Linked DNA regions of Homo sapiens: region 1 is linked to region 2. Evidence: promoter capture Hi-C in human tissues and cell types (Jung and others, 2019). All regions are on one chromosome and are shown on one strand. Each heading gives the region's core, a stretch centred on a gene start or on the middle of the fragment in contact. The rest is flanking DNA. Distances are from core to core; before and after follow the strand shown. Region 1 overlaps LSM12 (LSM12 homolog). Region 2 holds the start of MPP2 (MAGUK p55 scaffold protein 2).

Region 1 (2,700 bases), core at 45-2,544, 130 kb after region 2:
TGAATGGTCTGGAAGAGCTGCTGGCCCTCTAGAGAGACACCAGCACTGATTGCATAGGCCTGGCTCAGCTTCTCCTCCTTCTCTGTCCGTGCTTTGCTGGCAAGCTAGGGTGGAAGAGAGGAAAGAGACTCAGAATAGGATTCATCTTCATTCTTGCCAACAGTCAGGACCTAAGCTGAAGAAAGGAGGCCAGGAAAGACTTGTTTGGACAGATTCTGTTTTCTCAGAAATGAAAAGTGAAACAAATTTTAAAAATCCACGACATACCTGAACAGTTACTGGTATTCCAAGAAAACGTTCCTTCCTTCCTTCTAATACTTACTGCATACCTACCATGTGCCAGACATTCACTATGCTAGGCTAAATATAGCCTGAAGTGGGTGGGGGAGACAGACTATAAACAAGTAACTGAAATCAAGGTGATTTCAGACAGTGATAAGCACTAGGAAGAAAATAAAGCACTTTTAACATTATAGAGTGTGGCTGGGGGACTATGTGATGGCAAATGATGGTCAGAGATTTAAAAATATATACATTTCCGGCCAGGGGAGGTGGCTCATGCCTGTAATCCCAGCACTTTGGGAGGCCGAGGCAGGTGGATCACGAGGTCAGGAGGTCAAGACCAGCCTGGCCAAGATGGTTAAAACCCTGTTTCTACTAAAAATACAAAAAAAAAAAAAAAATTAGCCAGGCGTGGTGGCGGGCTCCTGTAATCCCAGCTACTTGGGAGGCTGAGGCAGAGAATTGCTTGAACCCAGGAGAAGGCTGCAGGGAGCTGAGATCGCGCCACTGCACTCTAGCCTGGGTGACAGAGCAAGACTCCGTCTCAAAACAAAACAAAACCAAACAAAAAAAAATACATACACATACACACACACACACTTCTAACTGGGTGCATCACTGAGGTAGGGAGTTCGAGACCAGCCTGGCCAACATGGTGAAACCCCGTCTCTACTAAAATTACAAAAATTAGCCGGGCATGGTGGTGCGTGCCTGTAATCCCAGCTACTCAGAAGGCTGAGGCAGCAGAATCACTTGAACACAGCAGGCAGATGTTGCAGTGTGCCGAGATCATGCTACTGTACTCCAGCCTGGGCAAAGAAGTGAGACTCTGTCTCTTTAAAAAAAAAAAAAACAAACACACACACACACACACACACACACACACACACACACACACAAACACACACACACACACAGAATTTCCATTCAAGGCGAAAATTAAGATTTATCAGCTGTTGTGCTAGAGCCTCCAGTTTAAAAATTAATACATACCACACCTTCACAGACCACAATCTGAGACTCTAAAAACTCTTACAGAACATTATCTGTGCTCACATAGGGAGCCAGGACTCAAGTAAATCTAACCATAAACGCTGTCCACCTTTAACTTTAGCTAAAGGCAACCCTGTCCTGCTTTTGAGAAAAACGAAGAGTCTGAATTCTACGTCATGTCTGTTCCTTCACTGCCCTCTGGTGGAACCATCCACAAACTGATCAAAAGAAAATCTAGTAAAATCTGGTAGTCTACTACAATCTCGTAACTTCTACCCTGTCAATCCCTATCACCTCTCCAGCACATTTCTGATCCCTACCCCACACTACTGGTTGCTAGAGATTCCAGAGGTACAAATTTGTTTGAGTGTAAGACAAAACAAATGTGCTAGACAAGGTAGTTAAAACAAATTAAAGGCAAACAATGCATCTTAAAAGTCCAACAAATAATCTGGAGACTCTTCAGACCCATGAACATGAACAGCTGAGTCTAACAATGCTGCAGCACATGTGCAAACACGCGCGAGAACACACAATTTGTCCCCAAACATCAGTTCCTTAAATAAAAAGAGGCACTGGCTGGGCCCAGTGGCTCACGCCTATAATCCCAGTACTTTGTGAGGCCGAGGCAGGCGGATCACCTGAGGTCAGGAGTTTGAGACCAACCTGGCCAACATGGTGAAACCCCGTCTCTACTAAAAATACAAAAATTAGATGGGTGTGGTGGTGTGCACCTGTAATCCCGCCTACTCAGGAGGCTGAGACAGGAGAATCGCTTGAACACGGGAGGCAGAGACTGCAGTGAGCCGAGATTGTACCACTACACTCCAGCCTGGGCGACAGAGCAAGACTCCGTCTCAAAAAAAAAATGGGGGAGCCATACCTACAGCATATTCCAAAAGTACCTTAATGCTTGGAATCTTCAAACATTTATATTCTGCTTTTACAGTGATCCATCAAACCATAAACTAAGCATAGCTTTTTTTCTTGGGATTGAGTTTCACTCTTGTTGCCCAGGCTGGAGTACAATGGCACGATCTCAGCTCACTGCAACCTCCGCCTCCTGGGTTCAAGCGATTCTCCTGTCTCAGCCTCCAGAGTAGCTGGGATTACAGGTGCCCGCCACCACCCCCAGCTAATTTTTTTTTTTTTTTTGAGACGGAGTCTCGCTCTGTCGCCCAGGCTGGAGTGCAGTGGCGCAAGCTCTGCTCACTGCAAGCTCCACCTCCCAGGTTCACGTCATTCTCCTGCCTCAGCCTCCCGAGTAGCTGGGACTACAGGCGCCTGCCACCACGCCCAGCTAATTTTTTTGTAGTTTTTTAGTAGAGATGGGGTTTCACTGTGTTAGCCAGGATGGTCTCGATCTCCTGACCTCGTGATCCACCCACCTGGGCCTCCCAAAGTGCTAGGATTACAGGCGTGAGC
Region 2 (2,700 bases), core at 92-2,591:
AAATCCCTGCGCTCGGAAGTCTTGCCCAGCCTGCCTGGGTTTTCTCCCGGGGAATCGGTTCCCAGAGCATCGGCTGGCTTTGCTCCCCCACGCCCGTCCAAGCCTCTGAGAGGGCGGGGCCTGGCTGTGTCCACAGGAGAACGGCAGTGCCAGGCAAGCTAGCCTGGCTCCGTGCCAAGGTCCTGCACCCAGACATCTGGGAACCTGCACCTCGGCTTCCAAAAGCCTGGGCCCAGATGCCCTCTCAGCTCTGCCTCCGAGATATCCACATCACCCATAGTGTCCGCAGGCGAGCGGACCAGCAGTGAAAGGGAGAGGTTTCTTCCAACCTCCCACCCATCCCTCCATCCATACACATACAAAGAGGTGCGGAGAAGAAAGGTCTGACAAAGGCGCTTTGGAGAGCGAGAGGTCGCGGGGAGGTCTGGACAGAACTGAGGGCCAGAGGATGGGGTCGAAAGGCCAGGCGGACGTGCATGCTTGGACCATCAGATCACCCCTGCCCCAACGGACCCAGCCCTAACACCCTGGGCGCTAGGACCTGGGGGAGGGGGGCGTGTTGTGAGCCATCAAAGAAGGCTCTCTACGTGCGCGCCCGCCGGAGACCAGGGATGAGGTCACTAAATGACTGCCCCGGCCAACCCCCACCCCGTCTTTATCCGCACCGCCCCCCCCTTAATTGACCTAACTTTCTAACCCTAGCTCTTCGCTTCTGGCACCGGTCCCCTCCCAAGTCTCCAGACCCTAACCCTGGCTCCCGACCCGCCCCGCTACAGCTTGGGAAGCGGGAGAAGCAGCGCGCGCCCTTCTGCGGACCCCCTCCCAGGGAAGATTGTGGTGTTAGCTGCCTAGGGGGACCAGGGGGCCACCGGGACCCAGCGCAACCTCTGTCTCGCTCCCCAACCCCCGGAAGCGCTAACAGCACGGTTCTTACGTAATGCCGGGCTTCTAAGTACCCCCAACCCGCACAGCCCCCGGGGAGGCCGCGCAGATACCGGGGCCCCTCACAGCTCACCACCTTGGTGCCTGAAGCCACTTTGGAGCCCCTACCGCAGGGGCGGGGACCAGTGTCAATGGGCAGCGGGGCTTGGTTCTCCCAACCAGCACCCCAGAAAGAGGGCCCAGGGGCGGGGGCGGGTGGACAGGGAGGGAACGGGCCTGGGTGAAAGGGGCCTGTGGAGTTTAAACCCAGTGAATAGGGTCCTAAGTGCCGTGTCAGGACGAAAAGAAGGCGGAGGTCTTGGGATAGGAGCTGGCCCGGGGGCCGGGGGACGCCTACCTGCGCCCCGGGAAGCCCCTAGCTCCGGGCGGCTCCAGCGCAGCCGGGCGCTCAGCGTTTATTGCTTGTCAATCGCTAGCCCGGCTCTTAAAGCGGCAAGGCCTCTCCGCGAGGGGGCGGAGGTCCGGAGGAGAGGGGAGGTGAGGAGAACGCGGAGGCCGGCACAACTCGGAGGAAGTAGTCTTTCCCAGCAGCTGGTACGGGGGCAGCCAGGTAGTGGTTTGGGAGACACCGCACAGACCACGACGCCCTGCTGGAGTCCCACTGGGAAGGGTTAGGGAGGCAGGACTGGTACCAGTACCCGCTGGTGCCCCTCGGCTCCCAAGGATCCCTTAAAGGGGCGATGGTAAAAGTGCCTAATGAGACCGGCTTGATTACTCCGCCCACCCATCTTGGCTTAGACCGGCGTTCTAGTTCCAGGCGTGCCTCACTTTTCCTCGTTATCCTGCTTCCATATTGAGAAAAAGAATAGGAGGACTTCAGAGAGACTCCCAGGAAGCAGGATACCAGCCCCAGAAGGCCTCGGGATCAGGGGCAGCTTTTTAAGGACTCAGAGGGTGGATATCCGGATTCCAGACTTTCCAGAAATTTTGCAAAAAAGAGGAAATGTCTTCCTGAAAGGATTCGAGAGCCTCTTTTAGGTCTAGGTGAGGGAGGCCTGGTCCATTTTCCTGCCTATGGAATAAAGAAGTAACTGGCTAGCCTTCCTCAGAGTCCCAGCCCAAAAAGTAAATAAAGGGTTAAACCCACTGGCCCGCCTTCGCCCAGCCTCCGGCTCCACCCCACATCTGCTAGTAAAAGATGCTGGGCCTCCAAATACGGGAGGCTCTGTGCAGTGCGACTAGCATTTGGGGCCAGCTACGCTACTTCTCCGACCTCGGCGTTCAGCCACCCCGTCCAGTTGCCCTGAACAAAATGTGAGAGTCATCCCTTTTCCTTGCTAACTGGATTCCTAAGATCATAAATGGACTGCATCTTTGGCCGGGCGCGGTGGCTCACTCCCATAATCCCAACACTTTGGGAGTCGGAGGCGGGAGCATCGGTTGAGCCTAGGAGTTCGAGACTAGCCCAAGCAACATAGTGAAACCCCATCGCTACAAAAAATAAAATAAACAAAATTAGCTGGGCGTGGTAGCGCGCGCCTGTAGTCCCAGCTACTTGGGAAGCTGAGGCTGCAGTGAGCCGAGATTGCAACACCGCACTCCAGCCTGGGCAACAGAGTGAGACCCTGTCTCAAAAGAAACAAAAAGAAAAGAAATGGATTACATTCTGGAAACTTGCTTGGAAATCTCAGAAATGGGAATCTATCCCGAAAGCAGGGGACTGGTCCCTGGGTTCCAAGACTCAGCTCTCCCCTGAGTTCCAAGGGTATAAGTTTGGATATAGGAAAAAGCCACAGAGGCGGCCGAACTGCTGAAAAC

What was found. Contacts are between HindIII fragments. The study calls those that stand out against the background at their distance.
Region 1: a contact is called between a fragment that was not itself captured here and the fragment with the promoter of MPP2 in region 2, in 1 of the 25 tissues and cell types used here (aorta).

Annotation. Positions count from the first base shown.
Region 1 is chr17:44,040,153-44,042,852 of GRCh38, forward strand. LSM12 (LSM12 homolog) reads right to left here. Exons shown (of 5, transcript NM_001371445.1): 3 at 1-104. Among named protein-coding and RNA genes, the nearest start is that of LSM12, 25 kb to the right of the region's middle. The HindIII fragment of the contact is 8,358 bases long and covers 1-2,700 here.
Region 2 is chr17:43,906,195-43,908,894 of GRCh38, forward strand. It overlaps MPP2 (MAGUK p55 scaffold protein 2), which reads right to left and starts at 1,342. Exons shown (of 13, transcript NM_005374.5): 1 at 1,280-1,342. RefSeq lists an enhancer at 1,352-1,501. The HindIII fragment of the contact is 11,562 bases long and covers 1-2,700 here.